Regions from separate parts of the Homo sapiens genome. Here regions 2, 3, 4, 5 and 6 are each linked to region 1. The links are contacts of gene promoters, found by promoter capture Hi-C in blood cells and fetal thymus (Javierre and others, 2016). All regions are on one chromosome and are shown on one strand. The core of a region is centred on a gene start or on the middle of the fragment in contact, and the rest is flanking DNA. Distances in the headings are between cores, read along the strand shown. Region 1 holds the start of OVCA2 (OVCA2 serine hydrolase domain containing). Region 2 overlaps SMG6 (SMG6 nonsense mediated mRNA decay factor). Region 3 overlaps RPA1 (replication protein A1). Region 4 overlaps SMG6 (SMG6 nonsense mediated mRNA decay factor). Region 5 overlaps SMG6 (SMG6 nonsense mediated mRNA decay factor). Region 6 has its middle 77 kb from the start of RPA1.

Region 1 (3,791 bases), core at 1,292-3,791:
CTCGCAAGTTGGAGACCATCCGCACAACATGGTGAGACCCCTTCTCTACAACAAATACAAAAATTAGCCAGGCATGGTGATTTGCGCCTGCAGCCCCAGCTGCTTGGGAGGCTGAGGTGGGAGGATGGATGGCTTGAGCCCGGGAGGTGGAGGCTGTCAAGATTGTGCCACTGCACTCCAGCCTGGGTGATAGAGTCAGACCTTGTCTTTAAAAGTAAAGAAAACAAAAAAAGAGTGGGCAATCCTAGGTAGGTGCAGTGGCTCAGGCCTATAATCCTAGCACTTTGGGAGGCTGAGGCAGGTGGATTGTTTGAGCTAAAGAGTTTTGAGACCAGCCTGGGCAACGTGGCAAAACCCTATCTCTACAAAAAAATATAGAAATTAGCCAGGCGTGGTGGCGCATGCCTGTAACGCCACCTACTCAGGAGGCTGAGACAGAACTGCTTGAACCCAGGAGGCTGAGGTTGCAGTGAGCCAGGATCTTGGCCACTGCTCTCCAGCCTGGGTGACAGAGTGAGCCTGTCTCAAAAAAAAAAAAAAAAAGAGTGAGCAATCCTCAAAGTATCCAAGAACAACTACACGCCCCAAGGGGAAAACCAGCTGGATTGCTTAGGCCTTGGCTGTAGTCACTAAAGAATGGCATCAATCTCAGAAACCCTCAAGATGGGGTCAATTTAGGAAGAAGCTGTTTATTCTGTACTGTCTTTGGCCTCCACCTAAGGTCTGGCATCGACCCACCCTTCAGGCTCATAGTTCAGCGAGGTTAGAGCACTTAGGGAGAAGCAGGTAACACATCCAGGGTTTGAGAGAAGACCAGCACACAACTCTCAGTGATCTGGATAGAGGAAGACTAAATTACTGTGGTTCAGGCAGCCTTGCCAGGTGATGTCTTCCCAAAACTTCTCAGATGTATATTCCTCCCTGATTGTGCCACCTAGGCCTCCTTCCCTTCAGTTTGGGACTTAAAACTTCCACCAATAACGTGAGTATGTGCACCCATGCAGCAGCCTGTCCGAGGACTCACAACTGGAGACACCTCCCTGCTTGGCGCTGCCCAGAAAACTATGTAGATGGCCAAGAAACCGACTTCCATTATAAAATGTTTTTCTGTGTGTACCAGGAAAAAGATGCTCAAAATCCAAATCACCACTTTATTATGTGGCAGTCACCATGGTGCCAGCCTCTGCCTTCCCCATGTCACCCTCCTAATCCAGGGCTCTCCAACCATATTCATGTTTGCGTTTTCACAAGTCAATGTCCATTAAGGCCTTGTGCTCCCCTTTTCTTCAGTACAGGGCAGGGCCCTTATAATTTGGGTCTCAAGAATTGATAGTTGTCTCTTAACTGGTTCTGGTGAGGCGCACTCACAGCAGTGAGTGGAGGGTCCTGGGAGGGCATGGATGACGGAGGCTGCCCCTAGAGGAGCTGGATGTAGGAGCAGAGACATTTCTTGATCTTTCACTCTGCAAACTGGTCCAAGAACTTGAGGTAGGCCTGACGCTGGGGTGCAGCTGCTGGAATGAAGTGGCCACCAGAGTGGGTGAGGGTGATGGCTCCGGGAAATTGGCTGGCCAGTTGCACACTCTCCTGAGAGGGGATGACTTTGTCAGTGTCCCCAAAAACATGGAGCGAAGGCAATGACAAGGGCCTTTGCAGGATGGATTCCTTGAACCCAATGCCCCGGGGACAGAAACCAGACACCAAGAGGATAAACCGTGGCAAGGGGAAGCGGGGATCGCCTGCCTGGCCCAGGGCACACACAAGGGCTGCTAGCGCAGCCCCTTGGCTGAAACCAAGAAGGCCGTCAAAAGGCCCCAGCCTGTTCAGTGCCTGTGCCACCATCCCCAGTGATTCCTCCAGGCCCCTGCAGACGGCGGGCTCTTCCAATGCGGAGAAAACGTCGGCCTCCTGCTCTGAAAACCACCAGCCTCGAGGCTGCTCCTCCGGAGGGCAGGACCCTACAGCGATATGAGGAAAAAGGATGGGATTAGGGCATGGGAGGCTCCAGGAAGGAAAGAAATGAGAAAGGGCAGGAGGGTTCGAGATGACAGAGAGAAAAAGGGAATCGAGGCAAAAGTCTGGGGGAAATGAGAGGGGGGAAATGAGTGGATTGGCCTGAACAGGAGACAGCGGAGGAAGACGGTGAAGGCGGAAGCCTGGGAGGACAGGCTGCAGTTTGAGCAAAGAGGGTATGGGTCGCGAGAAATGAAGGGTGTGGACTGGGTGGGAGGAATGCGGGTGGACGCAGGGTGGGGGATGCTGAAGGGTGTCGAGGGGGACGAAACAAGATGGAGGAAACTGAGTGCGTTTCCGGAGCGGGGCTTGTCTCACCGAAGTCTGATCTGGCGCCCTCGGGGCCCGGGGGGTCGGGGACCGGGTGCGGGCCGCTGAGGCACACGAGCTCGGCGCGACCCCGCAGCGCCTTCCTCAGCGCCCCGGTCTTCTCACGGAAGCCCCGCTCGCTCTGCCGGAAGCCCGCCAGGCACAGGACCCGCAGGGGTCGCTGCGCGGCCATTATGCCCGGCAAGGAGCGACGGAAGCACCGGAAGCGGTCTTTCCCCGAGCGGAAGCACAATGCACGGGGCGGAACCGAACGTCAGCACCGCCCCGAGGGCGGGCCTCGGAGCGCCAAGGCGTTCCCATGACAACGGCAAAAGGCGGGGCGCACCCAGAGCGGGGGCTGATACCTGAGGCCCGGGAGCGCGTCAAGGAGCCAGCGGCGCCACCTTCTCGTCCCTGCAGCTGCAGTCCTCGCAAGCCACGGCCGAAGGGGGACGCGCGGACCCCTCCTGCACCTGAGGTCGCAGACTTTGGTTAGGGTCTCGCTCCTGCGACCCTGCGTTTCCCTCCGCTCCGCTCCTGTGCGTTTCCCGTCGCGGTCGCAGGGCGGCGGCCAGTGCCCAGGCGCGGTCTCTCCTCCCTCCTGGAAGCCCCCGCCTACCTTCCCCCGCGCGGGCCGGCCCGGGGCGTGGGGACGGCGGTCCTGGCCGTGGTTCACCGTCCAGGGCCCCAAGGAGCTGCCAGCGTAGAAGTCCATCGGGTAGGGCTGCTGCCAGGAAATGTCCCTCAGAGCCACGGCCGCCTAGGGGAGGGGAGGGAGGGACAATAACATCTGCCAGTGTTTTTCTGCCCCTGGATTACTGAATTCAGTCCTCACGACGGCCTGTGAAGGGCACACTGTCCCCTGCCACAGAAGGGAACTGTGTGGTTCAGGGCCTTGCCTAAGGCTACACAGCTAGGAAGTGACTCCGCTGGAGAAATCGAGACAGACTCCGGAATCTACGAACATAACGAAGTGCTGCCCACCCACCCCACTCCACTCCAGACCTCACCTTTGAGAACCACGTCCAAAGCCCACTCTCTCCCAGAGCTTGGTGTTACCTCATAGGGTGTCAGCAGCGGCTTGGGGAAGGCTGTGCCCCAGTCAATGGAGAGACGTGGACATGCCACCTGCACCCACCTGGGAAGGGAAGCCAGGTCAGACCCTAGGAAGGGCCTCCTCGTCGCCCAGGCAGCATGCTGAAGAACATGACAGTGCCCCCAGCACACCCATTCATTAACAGGCTTTATGAATCCTAAAGTAAAGACAGTGACCCACTGCTGTTTGGAATACTGTATTGTTGCGTGTTTTCTCCTGTTTCCTCTGCCGACAATGAGCTTTCCAGGGCAGCTCACTGGTGATAGTATCCCCAGAACCACATTTAGTACCTGGTACAGGGCAGGTGTCAGCCACCGCTCAAACTCATCTCACAAGGACAAATGTGATGTTGCCATTGCCTCTGAGCCCCAAA
Region 2 (3,791 bases), core at 566-3,065, 220 kb before region 1:
TAGACTGGACACAGTAGCACATGCCTATAATCCCAGCATTTTGGGAGGCTGAGGTGGGAAATTGCATGAACCCAGGAGTTGGAGACCAGCCTAGGCAACATAATGAGATGCCGTCTCTAATAATAATAAAAATATTTCACTTAAAAAATACATAAATAAGGCTGGGTGCAGTGGCTCACGCCTGTAATCCCAGCACTTTGGGAGGCCAAGGCAGGCGGATCCCGAGGTCAGGAGATCGAGACTACCCTGGCTAACACGGTGAAACCCCGTCTCTACTAAAAATACAAAAAATTAGCCGGGTGTGGTGGCAGGCGCCTGTAGTCCCATCTACTCGGGAGGTTGAGGCAGGAGAATGGTTTGAACCTGTGAGGTGGAGCTTACAGTGAGCCGAGATCGCGCCACGGCACTCCAGCCTGGGCAACAGAGCGAGACTCTGTCTCAAAAAAAAAAAAAATAATAATAAAAATAATTAAAAATACATAAATAAGTAAATACATTAAAAAAGAAAGCTTTTGGCCTGGTTCTCTCTGGATAGCACAAGCACTGATTTAATCTATAATGATAAAGAATAGTTGAGTCTCTGCACTAGTAGGTAAGTGCTTTATCTGTGATAACCCAGTTATTTCATTGTCTCATAATTATATCATCATGACAGAGAAAGCCAGCTTAATTTTTTGGCCTCATGGATATAAAGACTCCATATCTTGCTGGGAACAGTGACTCAACGCCGGTATAATCCCGGCACATTGGGAGGCTGAGGCAGGAGGATTGCTTGAATCCAGGAGTTCATTCATGACTAGCCTTGACAACGTAGGGATACCCTGTCTCTACTAAAAAAAAAAAATTAGCCAGGTGTGGTGGGTGGTCCTAGTTACTCGGGAGCCTGAGGTGGGAGAATACTCTGGTCTGGAAGGTTGAGGCTGCAGTGAGTCTTGACTGCTCCACTTCACTCCAGCCTGGGTTACAGAGTGAGACCCTGCCTCAAAAGAAAAAGATTCCGTATCTGTAAGGTGGGCATCAGAAAATTTTTTAGGGTTTTTGTGAGTTGACTTCATGTCTTTAATTAGTCCTATGCTTTTGTAAAGTAGTTTGCAATATGTACCTCAGGCTGTACTCTTCACTCTGGAAGCTATTTGAAAAGTGTGTGAACTGCAGTTTGGCAGCACGTGATGACAGCAGTTCATTAGAGCCTCTTTCTGTGGGAAGAAGCAGATTGGTTTTCTTTTTCTTAGGCCATGAGAAACAGCTTAGTGGGATCCTCAAAGAAGGTCAGAACCAGAACCGGGTTTTTCAGATGTTGATAATGTGAGGTGGGTTGCAAGGAGCAGCCCCTGGTAGGCAAGGATTGGGGCTGCTTTGTCCAGATCACTGCTGGACTGTAAGGCTAATGTCTTTGTGGTTGGTAGTGAGTGCAAGTTTCTCAAAGTACATCAGCCCTACCTATAAACCCTTAATGCCCCAAATGACCTCGGTCACCAAACCACTTCAGGGCTTTATTTTTATCCTATCCGTTTTGTTTCAATATGTGAGGTTGGTTTCTTTCCTCTAACAGAGCAGAGTTCTCTGGGGGAAGAAACAGAGTGCCAGGGTGCTGCTGAGGCTGGTTAAACACCAAAACCACACTCTTCATCTTTCTGGGGTTGAGACGTGACATAAGCCATGCTGCAAACGCCAGCTTCCACACTGAAGAAACCTCTCTCAGTAGTCACTTTGTTTATTTTTTGTGTATTGTGTTTTTAGGCAAATAAAATATAGAGGAGTAAATGGTGTACCTTCCCATTCTGCTGTAGACAGAGATCTAACAATGAGCACTTGCTTAAAATCTGCCATTTCCCAGCTTAAGGTTTTTCATCCTCCCCGAGAGTGTTGATGAGAACTCTCAAAACTCACCAGGTCTCAGGAAGCCGGATTACCAGCATATCCTGTTCGCGTGCGTGTGTATATTCTGTGTTACCCACAGGCCACTTTCCACCCCACGTGACCTTTAGTTACCATCCGGAAAGTCAGGACCCAGATACCCGTCAGAATTTCCAGGCCTTGGTTTGGTTTAGACATTTTAGAAGATGTTAACAGCAATAATTGTAAAAGACTTTGAGTGGCACGCATGGTGAACAGAAAGTACTAGATCCTGAAGAGGGGGGAAAGGCATTTCTGTGCTCTTCCTGGTAAAGTGTTTGAAAATGAACATTCAGAAGAAAACCTAAAGCACCTGAAATGCACAGGGGACGAGAATGAGAGGTGATTAGAAGCCCAACACATGCACCAGTTCTTAGGTGGTAAGGCTAAGTTCTGAAGTTCATATTTCATTCTTTAAGATTGTCATATGCATTATTGGTGTTGTTTATAGCATACTCCATCACACTTTATTTTAACCAGCATCTCTAAATTAATATAAACAGACTAATGATTCAGGTAATACCCTAGAACAGGGATGGGCAAAATATTGCCAGTGGCCTATGAGCTAAGAATGGTTTTTACATTCTTATGTCAGGAGTTGTTTAAAAAGAGCAACACGAGACAGAGATGTACGTGGCTCACGAAGCCTAAATTATTTTCTGTGACCTTTTACAGAAAAAATTTACCACTGCTGTAAAAGCTGGGAGAGGTGAATGCAGTTAATGATAAGGTTCTTCTGTTAGGAAATTGATTGTTAATGAGAATGTTATCGCCTTTTAAGCAGACAGTTTTTTTTTTTTGAGAGGCAGTCTTGCTCTGTTGTCCAGGCTGGAGTGCAGTGGCGCAATCTCAGCTCACTGCAACCTCCGCCTCCCAGGTTCAAGCGTTTCTCCTGCCTCAGCCTCCCCAGTAGCTGGGACTACAGGCTCCTGTCACCACCCGCTGCTAATTTTTGTATTTTTAGAAGAGATGGTGTTTCGCCATGTTGGCCAGTCTGGTCTCGAACTCCTGACCTCAGGTGGTCAGCCTCCCAAAGTGCTGGGATTACAGGCTTGAGCCACTGTGCCCGGCCGACAGTTCTTCATTATGCAGGTCTGACCTTGCAGGATGTTTAGCGTTCCTGGCTCTGCTCATTAGATGCCAGTAACGGCCCACACATACTTCCAAACAGTTCCTGGGATGGGTGGTCATATTCTGGTTGAGAACCACTACTTTTGAAGCTTGACAAGGTCAAAAACATTTTGTTAAGGTTTACTCCTTCATTTCCTCTCAGAGAACCTGACTTGGGATTTGGATCTTGATGGCCTAGGGATTAACAATAGTGAGAGAATTTGAGTAGCTAGTGGAATAGGGAGAGTTTTCAGTAGGGTGGAATACAAGATTTTAAGGAAATTTTTTTTTTTTTTTTGAGATGGGGTTTCGTTCTGTCACCCAGGCTGGAATGCAGTGGCGCGATCTCAGCTCACTGCAACCTTCGCCTCCTGGGCTCAAGCAATCCTCCCCTCCCAGCCTCCTGAGTAGCTGGGACTACAGGCACACACCACCATGCCCAGCTAATTTTTGTATTTTCCGTAGAGACGGGGTTTCACCATGTGGGTCAGGCTGGTCTCAAACTCCTGGGCTCAAGCGATCCACCCACCTCAGCCTCCCAAAGTGCTGAGATTATAGCTATGAGTCACTGTGTCCAGCCTAGGAAGTAATTTAATGTTGCGTTTGTTGCTTGACACCTATTTTAAGAATTGAGATTGATTTGTGATTTATGAAAGGTTTGTTTTGATGTTGCTGGTGTTGTGAAAAGCACATTCCTCTCTATGTGAGAGATGGAGTAGCCATCTTTGGCCTTAATATCCAGATGATTTTGAGGTCTGTGGGAATCTGTATGGTGTACTTGAGGG
Region 3 (3,791 bases), core at 731-3,230, 170 kb after region 1:
AATTTCTAAAAAAAAATTAGGTTCTAATATTGATTCTGCCATCACACAAACATTTTGGGTGTTATATCAACTTCCAAAAAAAACATCTATTTTTTTCTCCCTATTTGGGAGTCTGAACAAACAGGAAATCTGCAGCACTTTGAAAAGAATGCTGAAGTACATTTTAGGAATTATTATTATTTTTGAGATGGAGTCTCACTCTGTCGCCCAGGCTGGAGTGCAGTGGTGCAATCTTGGCTGGCTCCAACCTCCACCTCCTTGGTTCAGGCGATTGATTCTCCTGCCTCAGCCTCCCAAGTAGCTGGGACTACAGGCACCTGCCACCATACCCAGCTAATTTTTGTATTTTTAGTATAAACGGGGTTTCACTATGTTGGCCAGGCTGGTCTCGAACTCCTGACCTCAAGTGATCTGTGCACCCTGGCCTCCCAAAGTGTTGGGATTACAGGCGTGAGCCACCACACCCGGCAATTTCAGGAATTATTAGCAAAACGAATGGACTGATTAACAGCTATCAAGACTGTCGTACTTCCATGGCATAGGAATTTTGTCTCATCGTCATGGTTTTGTTTAGTTTAAATAAAGCAAATAGAGAATCTGCACAGTCAGAACCCATTTCCCACAAAACCACTCCCATATCGAGGTCACAACTGTGTGCCTTCTGCTGTGTCCCAAAGCTCCACGGCGCTCACAAGCAGGCATCACCTCCCAGTGCTTCCAGTACACCTGCCAGCAAATCAGACTGTTTCCAGCTTCTCCTGCCCAGGAGGCTACTTATATATTTAGAAAACTACTTTCTACTGCTACAAACGCTGTCATTTAAGATCAAAGATTTTATTTATGACCTTAACCCTCTACTCCAGACAGCATCAAAAGACTATGACAGAGGGAAAAGCACAATAACAATCATGCTTCTCTCTGGCCTACTATTATTCTTCACCTCATAGGCCCGCAGAGCTGAGCCTTCTGTTTCTCGGCGAGCCCACTGCCCTCCGCAGAGCTGAGCCTTCTGTTTCCCAGCGAGCCCACTGCCCTCCGCAGAGCTGAGCCTTCTGTTTCCCGGCGAGCCCACTGCCCTCACTCCCCAGCATGACAAACACTCACACTTTCGTCAACCAGTTCTAGGGAGAAAAGCTTCCCTTCCCCTCGGGAGTTGCTCCAGGTACGGATCTGACTTTTGTTGGTAACACGAGCACAAATGGTCCACCTACAAACCAAATCGATCATATTAGTGTATGGGGTCTTCCTTGGAAAAGATCAAGTAAGAAATCATCTTCCTACAGCCTTTCTCGTCTTACGCATATTCCGTTTTCCAACCTGTATTTTAATCCAGCTAATTAAAACCCCAAGATGACACATGGGTTTGACAGTTTACAGAATAAGCAAATAGTAAAACATGCAAAGTGATTTAATACTAACTCATTCTCCTGTCAAATAAGTAAATTTATAAACTCTCTCCCTTCTCCAAAAAGCATCACCAAGGCAACCATATCCCCTTAATGAAAGGTTCTAAGCTGGAAAATACAGTAACACCAGCAATTATATTTTGCCACAGTTTTCAATTATGGGAACTGATATAACTGGTGTTACACTTCTGTCTCATTCGTAACACACCCTGAATAGAATACACGATGTTGGTGGACCATCAGGAAGAACACACTGAAGCAGCATGACCTTAGAGAGAAGCATGGAAAAAGGAGGCACAGGGCACATTAGGTACCCCACTTATAATTTCACAGGGAAAAATATCTTTCCTACGTTACAGAGTATTGAAGAATAAATATAAACATATCTGGAAGGATTCTGAAAAAAGAACTCTAATTTTTAACTATTCAAATTACTTTATTTTGTTTATTTATCTTGAGAGACGGAATCTCACTCTGTTACTCAGGCTGGAAGGCAGTGGCACAATCTTGGCTCACTGCAACCTCCGCCTCCTGGGTTCAAGCGATTCTTCTGCCTCAGCCTCCTGAGTAGCGGGGATTACAGGCGTGCTCCACAACACCTGGCTAATTTTTGTATTTTTAGTAGAGACACGGTTTCACCATGTTGGCCAGGCTGGTCTCAAACTCCCGACCTCAGGTGATCCACCCGCCTCAGCCTCCTAAAGTGCGGGGATTACGGGCATGAGCCACCGCGCCCGGCTTCAAATTAATTTTTGGTGGAAAAAAGTCATATAAAAGAAATTTATGTTCAGGGTATGTTCATGTGTTTAATACAAATAGTGCAGATTATTTTAGCCAACTAAACCAAAGACGAAGTCACCTGTTTATAGGAGAAGATTAAATGCCTTTTGAATTATCAGAAATATTTATTTTTACTCATAAGACTATCAACTGATTAAGCATTAAGTATTTTTAATTTCAAATTCTTTCAAAATGAATGAAACCCCACAGGCTATGGCAGATTGCTATTGTTACTATATTTTCCAACAAGAGTTAAAAGTTTGCCACAATTTGTACCCCTTTCCTCCTCAGCAAAAAAAAAAAAAAAAAAGAGTAAACCCATTCTATTTGGTGGTATTTGGTGGTGACCCTGAAGTTCACGCATAAATAACTCAAGAGTCCATAATAGCTTCTCCGATTTCATAAGTACACTCTGAACTTACTCTATGCAACAACTCACTTGGACTGGTAAGGAGTGAGGCTGGCAATGGGCACCACTTTGGACTGTGTTCCCCCAGAAGTGTGTGACAGGCTGGGACCTGCAGCTTTTCCAAATGTCTTTGAAGCACCATAAGCCTTAGAAACAGTAGAACCTTTAAAAACAAACGCAAACGAAAAGGAGTTATTACTATTCTACTTAGCTTTTTTATAGTAAGCTTTACAATAACTCTAAATTTTGGAGGTGCCACTAGTGAAATCATATAACATGAGAGGCAAAGCTTTTCCTTTTTATATGCAAGAGATACGCAGATCAAATAGAGACTGAGGCTGGAGGCTACAAAAGCAATCTAGGATGAAGGCTGCGCACACAGCAGCTCACTGCTATGTTTGCTGATGTCAGCCCCGAGGTCAAAGTAATAATGGTGACGAATCCAGACACTGCTGTTTCTGAAGGCCGCCCTCTTAAACACTTCTCTTGCCTCAACGGGCAAGATAATGGGTGAGAAAAAGAAAATCAACTTTTGTAACTGGTAAAACTGATGGCAAGGCACTAGTCACATGAAGAAAGACAGGATGTAAGGGACCTATCACAAATAGATCGCCTCCAAATCCCCAGACAACTCCCAGATCTCAATGCGTCTGAAGGACTAGCAAGTCTAGAATGAAGTCTGTAAGAATGAGTTTCGTCGGGTGCAAAGGGCAGGAATCAGTTTTTGGTCAAGATATGTTAAGTGGGTGACCACTAAGACCCTTCCGCCTCCTTAATCCAAACCTAAGCAGCTGCCCTGCGCTGGGAAAGAACAGGGAATCAGGTGAGTTCTTTTATACGCACCACGTATCTGCAAAACTCAACGTCCAAATTCAGAAAATATAATTTAGTTCAGTGATTTCATACCCTCTACATCAAAACATTTCTTCAGAATAGAATTTGGCTAAAAATATCAATACACCATCTATCCAGTATTTATTTACTGGGTTTCCACGGCATGTGCCACACCCTTCTAGGCATTCGTAGTAATTAGTAAAAAATATACATAGGAGTGTTTCTGTGTTGAAATTTTCTAACTGGGGAGTCGAGAGAGATCAATACACACACAATAGTAATTACCTCAAGATCGTGTAAGGACACACAGGTACTTTGTAGAATACATGTGTATACCCATACATAATATATAATTTTATAAA
Region 4 (3,791 bases), core at 342-2,841, 150 kb before region 1:
TTTTCCATTTCCCTAATGGCTAATTATATTGAACATCTTTGCTTGTGCTTATTTTCTATTTGTATATCCTCTTTGATGAAATATCTGGTTTGTCTTTTTTTTTGCCCATTTTCTAAATGTATTGTTGTTTTCTTACTGTTAAGTTTTGAGAGGTTTTTTGTTTTTTGGTTTGTGTTTATTTTTCTTTATGTGTTGTTTTTTTTGAGACAGGGTCTCTGTCACCCAGGCTGGAGTGCAGCGGCACTGTCACGGGTCACTGCAGCCTTGACCTCCCAGGCTCAAGTGATCCTCCCACTTCTGCCTCCCAAGTAGCTGGGACTACAGGCAAATGTTACCACATCCAGCTAATTAAATTTTTTTTTTTTTAGAGACACAGTCTTGCTATGTTGCCAGGGCTGGTCTCAGACTCCTGGGCTCAAGCAATTCTCCCACCTTGGCCTCCCAGCGTGCTGGAATTATAGGCGTGAGCCACCGCGCCTGGCCAGGTTTTAAGAGTTTTATATGTAATCTGGTTACTAGTTCTTCGGCAGATATGTGGTTTACAAACAGATTTTCCTAGCCTATCATTTGCCTTTTCATCTTTTTACAGGGTCTTTTGCAGTGCAAAAGTTTTTAATTTTTATGAAATCCAGTATATCAGTTTTTCCTTTTATGGATTGTACTTTTGGCATTAAGTCTTAGAACTCTTAGTCCTAGGTCCTGAAGATTTTCTTCCATTTTTTTCTAAGAGTTTTATGGTCCTATGTTTTATATATAAGTCTTCGATCTATTATGAGATAATTTTTGTATAAGTGTGAAAGTTAGGTCAAGGTTTTATTGCTTTGTTTTTTTGCATACAGATGTCTAATTGCTTCAGTACCATTTGTTGAAAAGATATTCCTCCTTTTAATTTTATTTTAGAAGAGGTGGGGTCTTGCTATGTTGTTTACGTTAGTCTCAAACTCCTGATCTCAAGCAGTCCTGCCTTGGTCCCCCAGATTGCTGAGATTATAGGCATGAACCACCATGCCCGGCCCCTTTCTTCATTAACTTAACATCAGGGAGAACGATTTCTCCCGCTTTATTCTTTTTCAGAATTGTTTGAAATGTTCTACATCCTTTGCTTTTCCAGATAAGCTTTAGAATAAGCTTGTCTTTATCTACGTGAAACGTTCCTGAGATTTTGATAGCTGTTGCGTTAAACCTATAGATCTATTGTCTACATAAAACCTTCCTAAGATTTTGATAGCAATTGCGTTAAACAATTAACTGGCATCTCTACAATGCTGAGTTGCTCAGTTCATGAACATGGTAACTCTCCCCAGTTTTTAGGTTGTCTTTTATTTTCTGGGTTTTGTTTTTTTGAGACAGAGTTTGTCACCCAGGCTGAAGCGCAATGACGCATTCTCGGCTCACTGCAACCTCCGCCTCCTGGGTTCAAGTGATTCCCCTGCTCCTGCCTCAGCCTCCCGAGTAGCTGGGATTACAGGCACGCGCCGCCACGCCCAGCTAATTTTTGTATTTTTAGTAGAAACAGGGTTTCACCATGTTGGCCAGGCTGGTCTCGAACTCCTGATCTCAGGTGATCTGCCCGCTTCAGCTTCCTGAAGTGCTGGGTTTACAGGCGTTGAGTCACCATGCCTGGCTTTGTCTTTGATTTTCATCAGCATTTTCAGATTTTTAGCATAGCGTTTCCGTACGTTCTGTTAGACTTATACCTGAATATTTCATTTTCTTTGTCACTATTGTAAACGATGGCATGTTTTTCATTTTGGCTTCCACACAGTCATCATCTCTGAGCTCTTTGTGCAGCACTGTGGTTGGAGTAGTCTGAGCTTTTCATGTTCATAGCAAAGGAGAGAGGAGCAGTGGGAGTGTGACACTTGAGTCACGGGCGTGTGAAAATCAGATATGCAAACAATGTGGGCATGAGAGCAGACAGAACTGGATTCAGATCCCAGCTCTGGCACTTTCTAGCCTTGTGTTATTGGGCAGGTCATTTAGTCTCTCTGAGCCTGTTTCCTCAAATGTCAAAAAGGAGAATAATACTCAGGCAATCCTTTTGTAAAGCTTTGAGATAATATATATAAATATTGTTTGCCTAACATAGGTCTCAAAATGTCTTAGTTATTATGTCTGGCCACAGTGGAATCATGTCATTCATGGTTAGATCCAAAGTGAGAGAGGCAAGTGTGCCTACTATTATGAGCAGCAAATGTTTCTTGAACCTCTCTATGGTGCTGATTTCCAAGGATGTGAAGTCTTGACATAGCTCTTGCCCTCAAGGGGCTTATAATTCTGTTGAGGAAACCTACTGTATGAATAACAATTCCAGGACAAGGTATTGCTTGTTAAGTTCCAAATAGGTGGGCAGACAGTGTGAGTGCATCAAAGAACCTTCTCTGGGTTTTGTTTGCCCTTTTGTACCCTGTCCATTGAGGTGGCTTCTGGATGTTGTTGATGAGAGAATGTGTGGAGGTGGGAGAGGGTGTGTACAGATTTAGGGGAAGGGTGTCATGTGGGAATATGTAATTAATTTTTATACTTTCCCCAGTAAACCATCGACCCTTTTTATGATGTCATGAGGGATTCCTTAATTTTGCAGCTGCTTCCTGATTACGTCAGAGAGGAGCCTGTCACCCCACAGCCTGGAGCTGTACTCGTACAAGAATTGGAAACAAATGAAGTGCCGAATATCTAATGGCTTCCACAGGGAGCACCAGTTCAGACTTCCCAGGCCGCCTCTTGCTAGGTCTTCCTCAAGTATTTCTGACCCCCTGAAGTGTCTTTGTTCTGGAAAGACAGGACTTGGCCCAGAGCCAAGAGGGAGGGAGCCTGGGGACTCCTTGACACATACCTCTCTCCCTCCAGGTGTTTTGCAGTCCTGAGTTTCTTCCCCCTTACTTGGATCTTGTTTGGTGAGTTGTTACTCTTCTTGAGTTTTCAGGATCCTCTGGAACCTGCCGAGAATACACGTGAGAGTCTTTGACCTGCTCCAGCAGTCTTCACCCCTACGTACCCCCTCAACAGCATTATCTCCAGCCTCTTTTGATGTTTCTTTCTTTTTTTTTTTGTTTTGTTTTGTTTTCTTTTCTTTTGGTAGAGACAGGGTCTTACTCTGTTGCTCAGGCTGGTCTTGAACTACTGGGCTCTCAAGCAGTCCTCCTGCCTCAGCATCCCAAAGTGCTGGGATTACAGGCGTAAGCCACCATTCCTGGCCTCTTTTGATTTTCTTTCTGCGGTAATTTTCATATCTGTGCACTGCTTTTCATTCCCTCTTCTACCTCTATTATAAGAAGATGTTACCCTTACTTGGCATTATAAACTTTATGAGTGCTTTACATGTAATTTCGCTTGCTTCAAACAAGTTCATGCTCTCTTAGCTTCCCAACTGGTCTCCCTCATTGTTACCTTTTTCCAGCTACCCTAATTAGTCCTAAATGCTTTAGCTAGATTAATCTTTATAAAATATTCACTCATTGCTTCATCCAAGAACATTGAGTGAGTGCTCCCTCACTGTTGAGTCAAGTTCATGTTCCCTGTTCTGGCATTGCAGGCCCTATACTTTGTGGTTCCAGGTAGAGCACAGCACACACAGTACTTGCGTGCCTCAAGTAGTACATGTGGTCCCCCCTGCATCCACCAACTCCATCATTGTTCATCTCTTCCAGCCCACCTTAGAAATGGTCTCTTCTGGCCGAGCATGGTGGCTCATGCCTGTAATCCCAGCACTTTGGGAGACCGAGGCAGGTGGATCACTTGAGTCCGAGAGTTCGAGACCAGCCTGACCAACATGGTGAAACTGTGCGTGC
Region 5 (3,791 bases), core at 479-2,978, 140 kb before region 1:
GCACACGTGATCTCTCCCACGGCAGGAGCCCCTGTCCCCTCCCCACGCCTCCCGTAGGACTCCTTGTGAGAGGAAGGGGTGTTGGCCTAAGGCTCCAGTCTGACCCCAGCAGGGTACAGCAGCTGACCCCAGGGAGAGTACTTTCCAGCTCTGAGCTGAGGTTATTTGGGTCCAGTGTGTGCTAAGCTAAGAAGACGTGTTGGAGTGGTTACAGCTAAAAGTTTGGAGAGGCAGGAACCGTGAGAATCCGCACCAGGGAGGCCGCCGAGGGCTCCACTCATGCCGTGGAGATGTCAGGATCCCCTAGGGGCTGCTCTTTCCCAAACATACAGTGCTGATGGGTTTAGCACACCATAGTGATATGACAGAGGCTATACATATGAGGGTGGCTTTGGAGAACTGAAATCAAATAAGGCGCCGACCCCGAACATATTGGGGGCAGTGGATGGTTGAGGTGCTCTGATACTTGAGAAATCCTGGAACGAGGTTACTGTGACCTATTGCTGGCCATAGGGTTCCAGCTGCCCTGCTTAGAACATGGAGAGGTTTATATTCTTGCAGTAGGGCAGGATGACTAAGCTTCAGAATTTGATTTGCCCTTTTGGGCAAAATTGATTTAGGGTGAGTACTCTCCCAAAGTCCCAAGTCGACTTGTTGGTATAAATGAGAAAGATAGAAGGGATTACCTTCATCTAAGTCTGGTCTCTTTAGGGGTCACCCAGCAAACATCTCTTATTCTTAGAGGATGGTGTCTTGCTGCTCATATCTTAACTCCTGGAATGGTGGCCTTTGATACCTTTGTCTCTTCTTTGTATCATGTGGCATCTGGATGACACATTGTTGCTAGAAATCTCCAGGAGCCGCATAGAATTCTCCCCATCTCCAGCCCAGCCCAGGGCCTCTTGAGCTACCTAGCACTGAGGTACCAGAATCAAATCCTTCGCCCAATGCAAACAGAGTTGGCATGACATCTTGGCTTTCCAAGAGGCATGCTAAGCCATTTCAAGCCCGGGTATTATTCTTTTAACTCTGCCACACTTATTGGATTCAAGTCCATTTCTGCTATTAGCTGCTGAATTCCTGCAGTTTTCTCCAGTGGAGTGAGAAGCTCTCCAGGGCAACAGTGGTCTTATGTTAGCCTCTGACCCCTGCGTGGACAGTTGTAGGCTAGGATATAATGGCCCACAGGGAAACCGTTTGAAAAGGCAGATATTGCATGTCTTAGGCGTGGTTCTCTTGTTACAGCCATTTGTCTTTGTGTCTGTACCACATGGGTGTCCTCTTTTTCAGCTTCTTTGTGCCTAGCTTCTGTGCCATCTTGGCTGTATTTCCAGATCTCCTCACTCCAGGAACCAGAAGACCCAACTTGTTTCCCATCTGTACTGCTTCTCTGATCTTCCATAGCTCTGAAACACAATGCACGGCTTCTTCTCACTCAACTCTTTCCGGGTTTGTTCTGCAGCTGTGGAGTTTGAATGTTAGTGTTTAAACAAGCTGGTATTACACAGGAAATGGCCACCTCCACAGGCCCCAGCAGGCTTGTAACATGGGGTCATTGTACTTGATGTTAATCACCAGTCAGCTTGTTCCCCCAGTAAAATATGAAGGAGTGTGTGAGTGCCTCATCCTCCTTAGACTTGCCAGGAAGATGGACTGAGTCTTGGTCAGGCGTTGGTGCTCCACTCTTTTCAGACTCTCTCCTCCTCTCAGTCCTGCCCCAGTGGAGCTTTCAGAAAAAGTCCTGCCTGACTCCTTCCCTATGAAGCTGGCAGACTGCCTTTCTGAGTTCTGGGCAAGAAGGTAGATTATTGTGGTGTGACGTGTCTCACCTGGCATACCTTAATCTGTCAGAGGATGCTGCAGTTGGGTAACCTCTCCTGTGAGAAAAGCAAAATTTTAGGAACACAGAAACCCATGGCCCCTCTGAGAGCAGGGCTTCTCAGTTCCCTGGACGTCAGCTGCCTTTCTACAGCTATTTGCAGAACTCACCTCAGCCTGAAGGGTTAATCTGATTCCGGAGTCAATATCCCCCAAACAACCAGCCAGGAGTGTGTGTTGGTTTGTTTCTGTGAAATGTGTTTCCCCAGTCACCTGGGCTGGCCTGGGCTGCATTGTATCGGCCAGCAGCTGCACTGCACTCAAACTGACAGATACATTAAACCTTGGAATTCTGAGGCAATAAAAAGTAAATTAACTCTTATTTTTTTCCTTTCCTGGTGGACTAAGTGAATGCATGTCTGTAGGGAAGCAAGTGAGCCTTGGTTCTGAGTGCATACTTGTAACTAGTCACTGCTGGTTTGTCCCAAACTCGGATCTGGCTTTCCGACTCCAGCCAGGGCTCTGCCGTCCTGGTGTGTGGTGTGTTCTGTGGGGTTGGGCCAGTGGGTCACCTTGCAACTGCTGATCCCTGCTCTCTAATCACATCACAGCTGCTGAGAGACTCCCTGGCCATCATTCTGGGAGCCATAAGCAGGCTCATTGGACACAGTTGCGTATTCTCTGGCTGCTTTGTGTCTGCTTGGTGAACAGTCCACCCTAACTTTAGCGGGATATTGTGGACTCTGGGAATTTCCCTAAAATATGCATTGAACCAGAACAAACCAGAAGGACCTGCATGAGTCCACAGCACTCTAGAGGGTCCATTTAGAATCAAAAGTTGTTTGAGATTATTTGGGAAACCTTCTGGGAAGTTATTTCCCAAGCATTTCCAAAAGATTGGCAGCTGTTTACAGATCCTCATCGCCACCCGAATTTGACTTTTGGCTCCTTGGCCCTGGCCAACCTTGAATCCATAGGGCCTAAGGGCTGCTGTCGGGTGAAGGCTAGAAGGTGCTCCTGGTTGGGATGAGGAATTAAAGCAGGAAAAAGCTAAGCTTTTCTCCTTCTACAGACAGGAAATCCTATGTGCACCCACAGAACTGACCTCCCAGCCCAGAGGCCTGATTGGGGTAAGCTGAGGTGATGTTGCCCAGCTTCCAGGAATTACCTCATCCTTTTGCAAATATCTTAACTTTTGAGTTCAGACATCTCACCTGGTTTTTCAAAGCACCTCTTCCTTTGAGTTTCCTGACACTCCCTCACTCCTGTAGAGAGTCACTGTGTCGCCCATGGGTCTCTGGGTAGTTGTGTTGTGTTCATGTCTGTGGTGTTCGATGAAAGGAGATAACTGATGATATGAATGTGAACTGAGTTTGGGTGATCCCACTGAAACACCAGAAGAAGGCAGCTACTCACAATCAGAGCACAAGACCAATTTGAATTAACCAGAGCAGAAGTGACCTCTCATTGAAGCATTTTGTGTATTTCCTTGGTTCTGCACAGTCTAGCTTGGCTCTTGGACCACTTTTATTTATATTTCTGAGTTGGGAACTCTGGGCACTCCCTGTGTCTTTTGGCATCAGCTGCTTTCTTACAAATCAACATTGAGGTAGGGATTCTCGTCCACCTTATTTTTGCAGTGAGTCTCAAGGTTTTGGTACAAGGTGGGTGGTAATGGGCAAAAAGGCGTATGTGGGCAGGGGTCCCTAGTGGTGGCCAGCAGTCTCTGGGAGGAGTCAGTTTTGGTTTATCTGAGCCTTAGGGGACAGGAGAGCATGGTAATGAGAACCACATGGTACCACATATTTCTTCATCTTGGATCCAAGATGGTAGGGGTGGGAGGATGAGAGAGGGATGTGGGGCCTCCCACTGTGGCAGCCGTGGGTAATTTTCGGCCGCCTCTCTCTGGCTGGGGATGCTGCTGCCCACACCACCCCCAACCCCCAACTATGTCCTGCAGCAGCCTTGACCTG
Region 6 (3,791 bases), core at 480-2,979, 130 kb after region 1:
AAATAAAATTTCTATTAGGCTTTGTTATAAGATTACATCAAAGCAGTTCATATGTTTTAATCTGGGGAGAGAAGAAGCAGCTACTTGGGGTTTGCGCCTGGGGGCTGCCTCTGTGTACTGAACCAGACAGTTTGCATAATGAACAATTTTCATTCAACCAGGATTTCAGCACAGATAGCTCCCTCTGCAAGGTCCCAGGCACAGGCTCATAGTTTTTATTCTCCCAGCTCCACCTGCTGGAGAAACAGCTTGTAACCGGGAGGAAGGGGACACAGGGCAGCGTTTCTAAGCCACGATGCTAAATTCGGGTGTCTGAAGTTAGGGATCTGACTTTAGACACCCCGACCCGCCGCGCCCCGCCGACAGGGCCTCTGTGAGACACCCCAGGGCGCAGCCTGGATCCGCCCCTGCAGCCGGCAGGGAAGGCGCGGGCGGGGGGTGGGGGTCCAGGCCTGACACCTTCGCCCCTCCCAGCGCCTCCGGAATTAGGGAATTTGGAAATCGTCGTTTGCATTCTGAGTCGAACCCCAGGGAGAATGGAGTTGCTGCAAGGCAGGTCGCCTCGAGAGACTGGCGGACAAGGTGGCTGGCTTCAAACACCAAACGCGGTTCCCACCTGGCCAGTCACCTTTCAAGTTTCCCAGCCACCCGGGTCTCCAGGAAATCAAACGGGGGAGAAAAACTGCCCGCGTGGAATTGCATTTTCATGCACAATGGGAAACCTAAACGCTGAGCAGATCGTCTTGAAAACCTGGCACAGCCGACGCAGGCTTGGAGGACGGGAAGTCCCGGGCGAGCGGCTGCTCCAGGACTCGGGGCTGCGGCCTAATCCGCGCTGATCCCCGGGCTTAGCGCGCGCCCCTCCCCGGCTGAGGTCGCGGGACCCGCAGGCCCCACCTGGCTGTGTCCCCTTGGGGAGGCCGCCCGGGAGGGGAGGTGACATCAAGCCGCGTGCAACTGTTTTCGAAAACCTGGGATGATCATTTAAATGTTTAAAATATGCACATGGTAATTCAAAACTAATTACCCTGAGCACATTTGAAACATTTATGCCATCGTCTCTGGATCCTGCCTACTGATTGTGCGCGGCGGCTCACTCTGCTGTTTCTATAAACTGCTTCAGCGATTTTAACTTCCAGGCTAAATCCGGCAGCGCAGGCTCTGCCTCCCGCCCCTGGTTGGTGGAGAGACCCCTTTCCTGACTTCCAGGAGAGGAGGCTGCACCCCGTTTCCCTGGAGAGCCATTTGTCACGGTCTCGCAGCTCTGGCTACGGAATCCCTGCCCTCGTTGTGTTCATAATGGTCATTTCCATTATTTAATTTAGGTTAAAATGACCTCTCTCCCCACCTATTCCTTTTCTTGTTGTTTTCTCCCCATTTCCCCTTCCTCTGTCTTGGCACGTGGCCCCCATCTCCTAATGACACCCCACCCGGCCCCTTCTCCATTTGGGGGTGCGCATGGAAGGCTTTTGGGGGTTGGGGGTGCACATGGAAGGCTTTTGGGGGTTGTAAGGTGGCCACATCTACCAGCCACCCTGAGAAGCAGGACTGAACTGGGCCAACCTGGGCGAACAGCGGCCACTGCCGGGCACGTTATAGTGGCTGCCAGGGCACACACGTGCACATGCCACACACACGTGTGCACACACACCATCCACGTGCACGCATGCCTCAGACACGGAGCCAGGCCTGCTTACGGACTGGACTAATTAGACCTAGGCAGGTCCTGAAGCAAATTCACTTTCCCAATTTCCAGAATAAAATGAGTTCTCTTCCTTTGGGGGCACTAAACCAGCATGCCGGGCTCAGGGACGGAGAATGGTGATGTGTGGCTGAAACGACCTGACTTCCCAAGTCTATCCGGAGAGACTGACCGAGGGCTGGGATTGGAAGAGGCGCCATTCCGGAGTCCAGAAATTAACATAGGCTTATAAATATGTTCCAGGACACAGACGAGCGATGACTGGTTCCTTATTATGCGAAGATGCCAGTGGCAGGTTTTAGGCGTTTAGGAATACAAAAGTGGGTTAGATTCCCACGGCCGGCTCCAGTGTGATAGAGTGATATTACCAGGTTTAACTAGAGCCATTAAGAGACTCTTCATTATCCCCACACCACCGCCACCAAAGTTATCACAGAAACCATAATGCAAGAGAGAATTTCCATTCCATCAACAAGAGAGGGAGCCAGTCTATCTTTGTCCAGAGAAAATGAGCATCCCAGCACGAAGCTCGTGAGGAATAGAGTGCACAACCCTCCAATAACATGCCCGGCAGGATTTCCTCAGCTATGCAGTTGGCTAAGCGGAGGCAGGCTGCTCCGGCTCTATCTTCTCGTGTACCTGGCCTGCAAGAATGCCAGCTCTATGAGCAGCTGAAAGATCAATTAGTGACAAAGGACACTCCTAGGACTTACATTCCACAGGGCTTAAGTCTTAAGCTCCAAGGAAATGAAGATCCAGGCCGCCCTCCCAGTGTGCAGCAATCTCATTTATTTTTCTACAAAGACTCACCACTCAAACCAAGCTAATTTTCTTGGTATCACCTGCACCTGGTTTACTGGCTCCTGAGCAACGTGCCAGTCCTTCAGTTTGAAATGGACTTTTCTTCCAGCCGATCCTTTTTTTTTTTTTTTTTTTTTGAGACGGAGTTTCGCTCTTGTTGCCCAGGCTGGAGTGCAATGGCGCGATCTCGGCTCACTGCAACCTCCGTCTCCTGGGTTCAAGCGATTCTCCTGCCTCAGCCTCCCGAGTAGCTGGGATTACAGGCATGCACCACCACCCCGGCTAATTTTGTATTTTTAGCAGAGACGGGGTTTCTCCATGTTGGTCAGGCTGGTCTTGTACTCCCGACCTCAGGTGATCCACCCACCTCGGCCTCCCAAAGTGCTGGGATTACAGGCGTGAGCTACTGCGCCCGGCCAGCCAATCCCTTTTTTGCAACTTCACGATGACAACTCATAGGTTTTTTGTCTGCCTCCACCAGACTGTCCGCTCTCCTTCACTGGACTCCCTTCACACACCACGTACTCAGCATCCTCTGTGTCACTCTGGTTTTGCTTATAGAAAGTGCTCTTCCATTTTGTGAGGCTCCCCCCCCGCCATGGACGGATAATGAGAAGGGACCAGGTCTTCTATTTCCTTCACATTTCTTGTGTCACCTCAAGTATCTTCTCACGGGACAGACACCATGTCAGATATACGGAGGACCCAGTTTTATAGCTGAGCCCCACGAGACGACCCAGCACACCCCCATACACACAGCAAAAATTGCCCCCCTCATTCAGATGTTCCTGGCATCCTGTAACTTGCCCAAAGCTAGATTTATTGCTCCTGCTGTAAAGTGTATCTGCTCTAAGCCTCACTTAAAAGCTATCACTTGGCAGAAGATCAAGTTAAAAGTGCAGGCTAGCAGGTGATGGTGAGGGTAGGAGAGGGTGGGGAGGGCGGGGTGGAGCCAAGAATGGAAGCGCTGAGAACTACCAGCCCAATATTTAACCTAACTGGTAATTTGCTGTGACAATTATGCCACAAACGGAACACTACCACTATGCAAGGATGTCGCTCTCTAATTAAGAGGGCTCTGCTTTTCCTAGTCACCGGCACTTTAATAACACACACACAAAATGAGGCTTGGCTGCGGGAGCTCAAGGTTCTATTAGGAGGCACGTGCAGCATGCGGCGGTGGCCTGCACATCGGTCTGAGCGTTGCTGCCCGGTGAACCTGCTAACACCTTCAATTCTCCAGCAGACGGAGATGGAAGGGAACCGAGCAGTCAGACGCTCTCACGAG

The links. Contacts are between HindIII fragments. The CHiCAGO score rates a contact against its expected background, and 5 or more counts as called.
Region 2: a fragment that was not itself captured here is called in contact with the fragment with the promoter of OVCA2 in region 1 in 15 of 17 cell types (naive CD4 T cells, total CD8 T cells, endothelial precursors and 12 more); the score reaches 14.7 in naive CD4 T cells.
Region 3: a contact is called between a fragment that was not itself captured here and the fragment with the promoter of OVCA2 in region 1, in 8 of 17 cell types (naive CD4 T cells, total CD8 T cells, activated CD4 T cells and 5 more). The highest score is 8.5, in naive CD4 T cells.
Region 4: a contact is called between a fragment that was not itself captured here and the fragment with the promoter of OVCA2 in region 1, in 14 of 17 cell types (endothelial precursors, total CD8 T cells, activated CD4 T cells and 11 more). The highest score is 12.8, in endothelial precursors.
Region 5: a contact is called between a fragment that was not itself captured here and the fragment with the promoter of OVCA2 in region 1, in 11 of 17 cell types (endothelial precursors, M1 macrophages, megakaryocytes and 8 more). The highest score is 15.1, in endothelial precursors.
Region 6: a contact is called between a fragment that was not itself captured here and the fragment with the promoter of OVCA2 in region 1, in 4 of 17 cell types (endothelial precursors, M2 macrophages, M0 macrophages and 1 more). The highest score is 7.8, in endothelial precursors.

What each region holds. Positions count from the first base shown.
Region 1 is chr17:2,040,772-2,044,562 of GRCh38, reverse strand. It overlaps OVCA2 (OVCA2 serine hydrolase domain containing), which reads right to left and starts at 2,541. Exons shown (of 2, transcript NM_080822.3): 1 at 2,332-2,541; 2 at 1,138-1,958. The coding sequence starts at 2,515. The coding sequence ends at 1,459. It overlaps DPH1 (diphthamide biosynthesis 1), which reads right to left. Exons shown (of 13, transcript NM_001383.6): 10 at 3,382-3,460; 11 at 2,942-3,082; 12 at 2,688-2,795; 13 at 665-1,958. The coding sequence ends at 2,706. RefSeq lists silencers at 2,239-2,438, 2,949-3,038 and an enhancer at 2,629-2,688. The HindIII fragment of the contact is 21,411 bases long and covers 1-3,791 here.
Region 2 is chr17:2,264,415-2,268,205 of GRCh38, reverse strand. The region is part of intron 8 of SMG6 (SMG6 nonsense mediated mRNA decay factor); the gene reads left to right. Among named protein-coding and RNA genes, the nearest start is that of SMG6, 37 kb to the left of the region's middle. RefSeq lists enhancers at 910-1,199, 2,090-2,299. The HindIII fragment of the contact is 2,607 bases long and covers 512-3,118 here.
Region 3 is chr17:1,874,628-1,878,418 of GRCh38, reverse strand. It overlaps RPA1 (replication protein A1), which reads right to left. Exons shown (of 17, transcript NM_002945.5): 7 at 2,626-2,758; 8 at 1,105-1,207. Among named protein-coding and RNA genes, the nearest start is that of RPA1, 47 kb to the right of the region's middle. The HindIII fragment of the contact is 1,687 bases long and covers 1,137-2,823 here.
Region 4 is chr17:2,193,974-2,197,764 of GRCh38, reverse strand. The region is part of intron 10 of SMG6 (SMG6 nonsense mediated mRNA decay factor); the gene reads left to right. Among named protein-coding and RNA genes, the nearest start is that of SMG6-AS1, 110 kb to the right of the region's middle. RefSeq lists an enhancer at 2,583-3,084. The HindIII fragment of the contact is 921 bases long and covers 1,131-2,051 here.
Region 5 is chr17:2,175,303-2,179,093 of GRCh38, reverse strand. All of the region lies in intron 12 of SMG6 (SMG6 nonsense mediated mRNA decay factor), which reads left to right. Among named protein-coding and RNA genes, the nearest start is that of SMG6-AS1, 87 kb to the right of the region's middle. RefSeq lists enhancers at 1-390, 1,152-2,616. The HindIII fragment of the contact is 2,294 bases long and covers 582-2,875 here.
Region 6 is chr17:1,905,355-1,909,145 of GRCh38, reverse strand. No RefSeq gene overlaps it. Among named protein-coding and RNA genes, the nearest start is that of RPA1, 77 kb to the right of the region's middle. RefSeq lists enhancers at 970-1,477, 1,478-1,986. The HindIII fragment of the contact is 5,203 bases long and covers 1-3,791 here.